Regions from separate parts of the Homo sapiens genome. Here regions 2 and 3 are each linked to region 1. The links are contacts of gene promoters, found by promoter capture Hi-C in blood cells and fetal thymus (Javierre and others, 2016). All regions are on one chromosome and are shown on one strand. The core of a region is centred on a gene start or on the middle of the fragment in contact, and the rest is flanking DNA. Distances in the headings are between cores, read along the strand shown. Region 1 holds the start of UBR2 (ubiquitin protein ligase E3 component n-recognin 2). Region 2 overlaps TRERF1 (transcriptional regulating factor 1). Region 3 holds the start of PRPH2 (peripherin 2).

Region 1 (3,520 bases), core at 672-3,171:
GAAATTCCTTGAGTTGTACAACATTAAGTAGAAAGTAAATGAAAACAGACCTAGGCTAAACAAGTAAGTAGGTTTAAAAAAACACACCAAGGCAGGGCGCAGTGGCTCACGCCTGTAATCCCAGCACTTTGGGAGGCCCAAACAGGTGGATCACCTGAGGTCGGGAGTTTGAGACCACCCTGACCAACATGGAGAAACCCCAACTCTACTAAAAATACAAAATTAGCCGGGCGTGGTGGTGCATGCCTGTAATCCCAGCTACTCGAGGGGCTGAGGCAGCAGAATCGCTTGAACCCGGGAGACTGAGGTTGCGGTGAGCTGAGATCGCGCCACTGCACTCCAGCCTGGGCATCGAAAGCGAAACTCCGTCTCAAAAACAAAAACAAACAACAACAAAACACACCCAAACAAGCAAAGATTCAGCATTTAACAACGTATTTCTTTAAAGTCTTCACCTCTACTCCTGACATTTCTTTCTACCCGGACTTAATGTCCTCACCAATTCACGCAAAATAACTACTCACTGACCAACAGCTCCACAGTGCCCCCAATCCCAAATTTTGTTCGTAGCATTCAGATTGCTGACTTTTATTCACGGGTCACTCCCTTCCTAGCAGCCTTTTTAATTGGAGGTCTTAGAGGTGGGGCCCAAGCTGTCTTGGTCCATTCATAATCATTCTCGGCAATCTCTTCTAATGGGTGTTCCTACAACTCTGCTATTTACACTAGCATATTCATATTACAGTTTTAATGCAATAGTGCGTTTGAACGGTTTTACGTTTGGAATATAACTGCTCCTACTACACTGTGACCAGTTCTCACGTTTAGCTTATACAGTATTTGTTGAAAGCTGCTCTATCAACGTTATATAACATTTGTTCTCCATCCAATTACCCCTAACTCCTAGAAAAAATATTTTTAAAATTTCCCAGACTCCACGACTACTTTCTCATACTCAGTAAACTTTCCACACATGCATCAACGTTGTCAACTAATCAAACCGGTGCAAAAAAAAAAGATAGCACTGAAACGGATAACGAAGGGTAGTGTCGTTTGCCTTCTTGGTGCCTGGGGCAGTCCCAAAAACAAAAGAGGGGCTCGGTTAGGGTGGCATGTTTAGTCGGAGGAGCACACGGCTTCGCTTGTCTCAGGAAAAGCAATTAACTAGATAAACTAGGGCGATTATACCAAAAACACAAGAAGCGTCTCTTCTCCTCTTCCAAGAGCTGATATAAAGGGCAAAGGCCCATGTGTTGGGAGACTTAATGGGAGGCTGGGGGAAAGGAGGTATGATGGAAGAGCCGTGGGTTCTCCTGGGCAGAAAGGGAAAGTAAACGTAGTTAGTGCACAGCGCAGCTCTGGCAGCTGTTGAAAATGGAAAGAGAGGGGCAGGATCGGTGGCCTCCCCGGGCTATTACCCCACAAGGCGAGGGCCGGCACAGCTGTTTCCCCAAGTCTGGGTCGGGCTGCTCCAGGACGTCCAGGAGTCGGTTCCTCCCCACAGGCGCGGCCTGCGAGGGGCAGACGCACCCGCCCGGGTTCCGGCACTCACCCCCGCAATCTCCTCGGCCGAACATTCCAGCAAGCTCCGGTCGATGGCCTGCACCTCTGGCTCTAGCTCCGACGCCATCTTCTCTCCTCCTCCTCCCCAGCGCTACCGCCGCCCGGAGAGCTGCAGCCTCACCTCGGCCCCGGCGGCCTCGACTGCCACCCCTGCCCCAGGCAATCAGTCCCGGAGCCGTCCAAGTGGCTGCAGGTGGAGCAACAGAGGGAGAGAAGGGTGACGTGAACCGGAAAGGAAGGACAGCGGCCTCCTGCGCTCCCTCCCAAGCTTAGCGCCCAAGAGTCAAGTCACTGGCTCGTCCCTGACCCAGGGAAGGACACAGAAAACCCCAGGCCTGACACTCTCGCTGGCCACTACCGCGTCCTGCACCAGGAAAGGGGCAATAACACCCAGGAGGGGAAGCGGAGCTTTCTGGGTACTGTAGTTCTGGGTGCTGTAGGTACAGCACAGCCGGGAAAAAGGTGGCGCCCTAACACGGTGCCCCTCGAATGCATTGTGGGAGTTGTAGTCCATTCTCAAGGGGCGCTGGCTTAAATGGCAGATAAGCGGGCGGGGCTTTTCTGCCCAACGAGAATCATGGGAAGACAGTCGCGGAAAGCAGCGCCCCCTGGAAAAAAGCCAAAGAGAAAGATACTGTGGGAACTGTAGTTTTATTCTCCGAATCTCGTTTGTTCATTTTTGTATCCCCAGCTTCAAGAACACTGCCTGGCACATGGTAGACCCTCAAGGACTTGCCAGTCTGGCATAGGGTAGGCACTCAAATACTTGTCAAAGGAATGAATGAATTACATTCTATTCCTGTGGTTCTATGTCCTGTCATCCATCGAACCCATATCTTTTATACGAGTAATGGAGGTGAACATTACCCACTTTTTTGAAGGTTTAAAACATGTTTTAAAAAATTTTTCAAAAACTTTAGTGATGACCACTTATAAACTTTATCACAAATCTTGCTGCAAAGGAAAAAGAGTCTATTAGGCCAATTAAAAGATTTCCTCTTGATAGAGACATTTAATTTCTACAGATAATCAGACCAAGCTTGGTGGCTCATGCCTGTAATTCCAGCACTTTGGGAGGCCGAGGGGGGCAGACTACTTGAGCCCAGGAGTTTGAGACCAGTTTGGACAACATAGCGAGACCCTCTTGATAAAAATCAAAAAATTAGCCAGGTGTGGTGGCACGCCTGTAGTCCCAGCTACTCGGGAAGCTGAGGCAGGAGGATTGCTTGAGCCCAGGCAGTTGAGGCCATCGTGAGCTGTGATCAGCCCACTGCACTCCAGCCTGCGTGACACAGCTGAGACCCTGTATCAAAAAAGAAGGAAAAAAAAAAAAAAGAAATAGGTAAACATTGTTAGACTAGCTATCAAAGAAAACTATGTTTAGTTAAAGGTAATTAGACTCTTGACTGACAGCTGGGTGACTGGGCTTCTTAGAAGTCTTCAGTCTCTAGAGTTTGTCAGAAAATTGTTTATACCTTTTGTCAAGTGTGTTAATTTATTCCCAGAAGTAGGTTGTAAATTACATATAGGGGGGAAAAGTTCTGAGCCAGACCAGGTTTAGGACATGTTTATGTTTATGTTGTTTTGGGATTTTTTTTAAACCAATACTATGATATTAACCAGTTTTTTAAAAAAGGAAATAAGAAACTGCCTGTATCCCTGTAACCTCACAATACAAGTAAGCCTTCTTATCACTTTTTAAAAGTTATATATATATATACATATAAAACATCAGAAATTCAAACTCGAAAGGAATGTTTTAAAAAAGGAAAATTGAAAACTTCCTATTCCTCTTACCCCAAGTCCCTCTCCCCAAAGAAAATCATTTTTGACACTGTCTTATGAGTCTGTCCAGAAAAAAGTATGCACATATCTGTACAGATATTTATAATGAGATATCTTGAAATATTCTTCTATGTATTTTTCTTTTTTTGCCCAACTTCCTTACACTGATCCA
Region 2 (3,520 bases), core at 606-3,105, 250 kb after region 1:
TTTTCCAGCTTATGTAATCGCTCCAAGGAAAGAGAGAGAAACAGAGAGAGAGAGATGAGGCTTAGCAATTGAGTTCCTGGCTGCTTGTCATATGAAGAAAACTGATGTGAACGACACTTTCCTCCTCTGCTTCCTGCCCTGCTTTTTTGTTCTTTGTATCGTGAATAATATGAATACAGGAGCTTCATACTTAGAGTTATTTTTACAAGGTCTCCTCTCTGCTTCAGATGACTCAGAGCCGGAGCCTTCTCTTGAAGACGTTCCTTGGGAAGCACCAGAGAGATGCCGAACCCCAGGCGATCTCAGGGTCACAAGTGGGTGTCCTGGAAGTGTGGGCTGGAAGGAAAGCCTTATTGAAGGCAAAACTTCTGCTGGTTCCCCTCTCTACACAGCCAGCCCTGCCTTTCTCTCACCATCTTTTCCTGCTTCAGCAGAAACAATCAGGCCTGCTTCCCAGTCTGGAAATGAGCAGAGGGCACTGCCCCAGGGTCGAGGCTGCAAGCTATGGGTAGATGAGGGGAATCTGTAGGCCCCAAAAGGCTGGTGGCTCTAGTCTGAAGGCAAGAAAACTATTTGGGCAACCAGGCACTGAAGGAGAAGGAACATTGGTAGAACCTATTTCGTGTCTGTCTCCCACTCTGCCCTTGTGTTCCTGGAGAGTGGGGGCTGCCTCTGACTGTTCTTCCAAACACCACACCCGGCACTAAGACCCAGTGCATGTGTGTGGAGTCGATGAATTAATGAAAGGGAAGCCCCTTTCCATGGGTAAAGCCAAATTACCTGGATGTGAGTACAGCACAAATCCATATGCCCGTGGAGGATGGAGCATCTGTATCTGCTCCCGAAGGTGCAGATGCCCAGACCTCGGCACACCCAGCGCCAGCATTGTCTGCTTTGACCCATCATAACCACTCTGAGAGGCCAAGGAGGTTGTTTCCATTTTACAGAGGGGAATGCCGAGGATCAGAGAGATTGGCTGACATGCCTGTTGTGCGTTTTGTAAGCGGCACAGGGGGATTCTTCTGCCCCACTTCTACTGACTCCGTGATCCAGTGCTGCCTTGAATCTTCGGAAACTCTAAAGTAGGGGCTCCCCGCTTCTGAGAAAGACTCCGTAGCTCTCTTTTGGACACAGCTGCAGTGCCATCCTTCTGGGAGAGCCAGCCTGGAGCAGAACAGCTGGGGCTCATCTATCTGCTGCCCAACAAACCTTGGAAGGAGTATGATAGGAAGGTTCCATTCAGACTGCTCTTCTCTGGTGGCTCTGGGGAAAAGGGCATGATGAGGGGAGATGCCCTTTTTTCCTCCTGTTAATCTGCCCTCATCCCTGACTCCCTTTCCTGCTGTCTTCTATCCAACCACACAGTACCCAGCTTAAAACCAAGGTGGATGGAAAAGGTTTCAAGTTGATCATGGAACTCAGAATGCATTTTTCTGTAGAAGTAGCTGGAATGCGATGCCTGGTCTCCCCATGATATGTCTGAAATAAAAGAGTAATAGCATTGGCCCAATAGATAATTTGTATTAATGTTGATGGTTTAATTAATGAATTATTAATAAGCCAGCACCCTCTCTTACTTGGAAGACGACAACAGCTTTCTCCACTCTTGTCCTCTTGTAGTTTGTTCTCCACGTGAAAAGTGAATCAGACCCCATCTCTCCTCTGCTCACAACCCTCCATGATCTCTTTTTTTTTTTTTTTTTTTTTTTTTGAGACGGAGTCTTGCTCAGTTGCCCAGGCTGGAGTGCAGTGGCACGATCTTGGCTCACTGCAACCTCTGCCTCCCAGGTTCACGCCATTCTCCTGTCTCAGCCTCCCGAGTAGCTAGGACTACAGACGCCCGCCACAACGCCCGGCTAATTTTTTTTGTATTTTTAGTAGAGACGGGGTTTCATCATGTTAGCCAGGATGGTCTCGATCTCCTGACCTTGTGATCCACCCACCTCGGCCTCCCAAAGTGCTGGGATTACAGGAGTGAGCCACCGCGCCCGGCCCCTCCATGATCTCATGCCTACAGCCTGGCCTCCTGCCTTGCTGACCGCACCTGCCGGCTCCCTCCACCAAGTTCATTCCACCAAAGAGTGGAAGGACACAGCTGCTGTGTCCTCTGCCTGGGACTCTCTTCCTTCCCTGAGTCACCTGGTTCAGCCAGTTCATTTAGGCCTATGCCCAGATGTCACCTTTTCAGGTGACCATGAATAGGCGCCACCCATGTTCATCACTCCTCTGACCCTTACCCTGCTTTATTTCCCTTCATAACATTCATCATACCTGCCATGACATTGCACACATGCCTGCTTACTTGTATATTGTTATTCTCCTCCACTAGACTATCTGCTCCACAAAGGCAGGGACCTTTTATTTGTTTCCTGCTGTGTTTCCAACACTAGAAGAGTACCCAACATATAGTAGGTGCTCAATAAATATTTATAAATAAATAGATGAATGCACAACTGAATGAGTGATATATCTCTACACCTAACCAACAGCAGATTGTGGTTTACATGCAGAATTTATCACACATTCCAAACATCAACGCCAAAAAGGAATTTCTTCCTTGCCTTGCCCTTGGGATTGGAAATGCAGGCACTTCATTTTAGTAATGAGTTTATAGATTATTCTGGAAACCAGAACTTCTTGTTCTGCATTTTTGGCAAAAATAGACACCTGCTTTCTTGGAGAGTAGCTTCTCAGAGTTCTGAAGGCTTCTTGGGGCTTGACAAATGGTTGGGGGTGGGTACTCTTTGGCCTCCTTAGCCTCCTGCTACCAGTTCTGCTGAGACTGGCAGTGTTCTCTTGATTACACTAGAGCAGGGTTTCTCCTACTAACGTTTTAGACCAGATCGTCCTTTGCTGGGGGCTGTCCCATGCCTTCCAGGGTGTTTAGCAGCATCCGTGGCCTCTACCCATTAGATACTAGAAGAACTCCCCCAACTGTGACAACCAACAATGTCTCTGGACATTGCCAAGTATCCCTCGAGGAGTAAAATCACTCCCTGTTGAGAACTACTGCTCCACCATGTACAGAAAGCCCCACCAACAACAAAGAATTATCCAACCCACAGTGTCACAAATGCCAAGGTTGAGCTACGCTGCTCTGAGAGCCCTGTCCAATAGGACTCTGCATTGAGGGAAATGTTCTATTTGGTGCTGTCTAATATGGTAGCTACTAGCCACATGTGGCTATTGAGCATCTTAAAATGTGTAGGCCGGGGCGTGGTGGCTCATGCCTATACTCCTAGCACTTTGGGAGGCCGAGGCAGGAGGATTGCCTGAGCCCAGAAGTTAGAGGCTGCAGTGAGCTGTGAGCAAGCCACTGCACTCCAGCCTGGGTGACAGAGTGAGGCCCCGTTTCTTAAAAAAGAAAAGAAAAGTAGTTAGTGCAACTGAAAAGCTGAGTTAAGTTTAATTTTAGGCTGGGTGCGGGGGCTTATGCTTGTAATCCCAGCACTTTGGGAGGCAAGACAGGCAGATTGCTTCAGCCTAGGAGTTGGAGACTAGCCTGGGCAACATGGCAGAA
Region 3 (3,520 bases), core at 766-3,265, 160 kb before region 1:
AGAATCATTAATCACATATATTGCTAAGGGAAAGAAGCCAGTCTGAAAAGGCTACATGTTGTATGATTCCAACTGTAAGATATTCTAGATAAGGCAAAACTATAGATCTAGACGGTGGTTGCCCAGGGCTGAGGAGTGAGGGAAGGAGGAATGAATAGGCAGAACATGGCAGGTTATTAGAGTAGTGGAAGTATTCTGTATGATACAATAATGATGAATACATGACATTATGCATTTGGCAAAAGTGACAGAATTATATGCACAAAGACTGAACCTTAATGTAAACTATAGACTTTAGTTAATAATAGTGCATCAATATTGGTTCATTAATTGTAACAAATGTACCACATTAATGCAAGATATTAATTAGAGGAGAAACTGGTTGGGGAGATGGAGAATAATGGGAACTCCCTGTATTTTCTGTTCAATTTTTTTGTAAACCTAAAACTACTGTAAGAAATAATCCATTAATTAATAATAATAATAAATGTACAGATTCACCAAGAGTGTACACTTCTACTTCCACTCTCTTTGTTGATGTATGGTGACAGAATTTTGACATACATTCAATTTGATGGATCGAGTTTGGTCTTTTTCTTTTTTTGAGACGTCATTTCACTCTTGTCACCCAGGCTGGAGTGCAATGGCGCAATCTTGGCTCACTGCAACCTCCACTTCCCGGGTTCAATTGATGCTCCTTCCTCAGCCTCACAAGTAACTGGGATTACAGGTGCCTGTCACCATACCCAGACAATTTTTGTATTTTTAGTAGAGACAGGGTTTCACCATGTTGGCCAGGCTGGTCTTGAATGCCTGACCTCAAGTGATCCACCCACCTTGGCCTTCCAAACTGCTGGGATTACAGGTGTGAACCACTGTGCCCGGCCAAGTTTGGTATTTTATTGTTGTTTGGATTTGCATTTTCCTGCTTATTACCCAAGTTGAGATCTTTTCCAGATTATTGGACTTTTCAAGTTTCCTAATTATGAATTGTCTGTTCCTGGTTTTTGCCTATTTTTCCAGTTGATTATTGGTCTTTTGATTGTGAATTTTTGTTTATTGTGAATTTGTGAGACTTAAAACATTTTTGCATATTAATTCTTTTTTTTTTTTTTCCAGACAGAGTCTCACTGTCACCCAGGCTGGAGTGCAATGTGGGGATCTCAGTTCAGTGCAACCTCCACCTCCTGGGCTCAAGCGATCCACCTGCCTTGGCCTCCCAAAGTACTGGGATTACAGGCATAAGCCACCATGCCTGGCCACTGTATATTACTTTTTAATTTTACAAGTTGCAAATGTTTTCTCACGATCTGTCACTTTCTTTCTTTCCTTCCTTCTTCTCTTCTTTTCTTTGTCTTTTTAAAATTTGAGACAGGGCCTCACTCTGTCACCCAGGCTGGAGTGCAGTGGCACGATCATGGCTCAGTGCAGCCTTGAACTCCCCAGGCTCAGGTGATCTTGCCACCTCAGCCTCCAGAGTAGCTGGGAGAACTACAGGTGCATGCCACCATACCCAGCTAATTTTTTTTTTTTTTTTTTTGTGTGTGTGTGTGTGTGTGTGGAGATGGGGTCTTCCTATGTAGCCCAGGCTGGTCTTGAACTCCTGGGCTCAAGTGATCCACCCAACTTGGTCTCCCAAAGTGCTGGGATTATAGGCGTGATCCACTGTGCCTGGCCCTGTCATTTCTTTTCTCAGAGAGGATAACAATTTATTTGTCCTACAGAAAGTTTTAAATGTTGAAGGAGATTGGCCTGGAAATATGCTTTTGGGGAGCAACACGGTCTGAGCCAGACATCCAGATACAGCCCATTCTTCTGGCCAGTCTTGCCCTTTGCTCCTGATTCTCCAAGCTGTACCCAGAGCTTTCTGGTTCAGCATGTACCTGGAGGCTGCTTTTGACCATGTTTTGAGAGTGGCATGGCTTTATCTAATGGGATGAACCTGGCTAAAGAGATTAGCAAAATGTCTTGTGGATCCCACTTTTAATCTGCAGCGTTCAGGCTGCCCCTTCTTGGCTGGGAAGGGCGCTGAAGAAACAACGCCCAGGACCAGGACTATCCCCTGCTCAAGCTGTGATTCCGAGACCCCTGCCACCACTACTGCATTCACGGGGATCCCAGGCTAGTGGGACTCGACATGGGTAGCCCCCAGGGCAGCTCCCTACAGCTTGGGCCATCTGCACTTTTCCCAAGGCCCTAAGTCTCCGCCTCTGGGCTCGTTAAGGTTTGGGGTGGGAGCTGTGCTGTGGGAAGCAACCCGGACTACACTTGGCAAGCATGGCGCTACTGAAAGTCAAGTTTGACCAGAAGAAGCGGGTCAAGTTGGCCCAAGGGCTCTGGCTCATGAACTGGTTCTCCGTGTTGGCTGGCATCATCATCTTCAGCCTAGGACTGTTCCTGAAGATTGAACTCCGAAAGAGGAGCGATGTGATGAATAATTCTGAGAGCCATTTTGTGCCCAACTCATTGATAGGGATGGGGGTGCTATCCTGTGTCTTCAACTCGCTGGCTGGGAAGATCTGCTACGACGCCCTGGACCCAGCCAAGTATGCCAGATGGAAGCCCTGGCTGAAGCCGTACCTGGCTATCTGTGTTCTCTTCAACATCATCCTCTTCCTTGTGGCTCTCTGCTGCTTTCTGCTTCGGGGCTCGCTGGAGAACACCCTGGGCCAAGGGCTCAAGAACGGCATGAAGTACTACCGGGACACAGACACCCCTGGCAGGTGTTTCATGAAGAAGACCATCGACATGCTGCAGATCGAGTTCAAATGCTGCGGCAACAACGGTTTTCGGGACTGGTTTGAGATTCAGTGGATCAGCAATCGCTACCTGGACTTTTCCTCCAAAGAAGTCAAAGAGTGAGTGGCTTCCAGTCCTGGGGTCAGAGCTATGAATATATTGGGGACACTGAGGCTCAGGCCTCTGACCAGCCCCTCTCCCCGCACCCAGTGCCTTTTCCTCTCCATCGGGTGCACAACTTATTGCTGCGTATGTGAGGGTGTATCAGGTGGAACCATATGAAATTGCTAATATTCTACCTCTTTGACCCATAAAAAATGACAACTTCATAGGGTTCAACCTAACATTGGCTAAGGTGGTAGGAAGGTATCAATTTATATAAGCTGTTTGGATAGGAGCCCCTTGGGATGAAGAGCCAGGCAGCAATGTGTGTCCACTTTATACAGAGGGATGGAAGTCATTCATAGATCACAAACACTGAGGTACTATTTGGCTATTTGTCCCATTCATTCAAAGTAGATGGATTCAGTCCCAGAAGTTTAAATTTCCTAGTTAGTTCCCTTGTTTTCCAACCTTTCAACCCTGAGCATCCATTCCCAAGATGTTTGTCTGGATATGTTGGAAAGAGCATAGGAAGGGGAAGTCATGAGATCTAGGGTGAAGTTTTGGTTCTGTTGTTCAAGGTCTTGTGACCTTGGGCAGGTCACTAGTCACTCTGCGCTTTGGCTTGCCCATCTTTTAAATGAGCACTGGAATAGAATAGGTAATTTTGGAAGTCACC

What was found. The method cuts DNA at HindIII sites, captures the fragments that hold promoters and counts their contacts. A CHiCAGO score of 5 or more calls a contact.
Region 2: a contact is called between a fragment that was not itself captured here and the fragment with the promoter of UBR2 in region 1, in 2 of 17 cell types (M1 macrophages and M0 macrophages). The highest score is 6.6, in M1 macrophages.
Region 3: the fragment with the promoter of PRPH2 here is called in contact with the fragment with the promoter of UBR2 in region 1 in 1 of 17 cell types (erythroblasts); the score reaches 5.1 in erythroblasts.

Annotation. Positions count from the first base shown.
Region 1 is chr6:42,562,430-42,565,949 of GRCh38, reverse strand. UBR2 (ubiquitin protein ligase E3 component n-recognin 2) reads right to left here and starts at 1,921. Exons shown (of 47, transcript NM_001363705.2): 1 at 1,553-1,921. The coding sequence starts at 1,630. RefSeq lists a silencer at 528-657 and enhancers at 1,690-2,209, 2,280-2,359. The HindIII fragment of the contact is 771 bases long and covers 1,834-2,604 here.
Region 2 is chr6:42,309,957-42,313,476 of GRCh38, reverse strand. The region is part of intron 3 of TRERF1 (transcriptional regulating factor 1); the gene reads left to right. Among named protein-coding and RNA genes, the nearest start is that of MRPS10, 94 kb to the right of the region's middle. The HindIII fragment of the contact is 5,172 bases long and covers 1-3,520 here.
Region 3 is chr6:42,721,092-42,724,611 of GRCh38, reverse strand. PRPH2 (peripherin 2) reads left to right here and starts at 2,015. Exons shown (of 3, transcript NM_000322.5): 1 at 2,015-2,858. The coding sequence starts at 2,278. The HindIII fragment of the contact is 19,648 bases long and covers 1-3,520 here.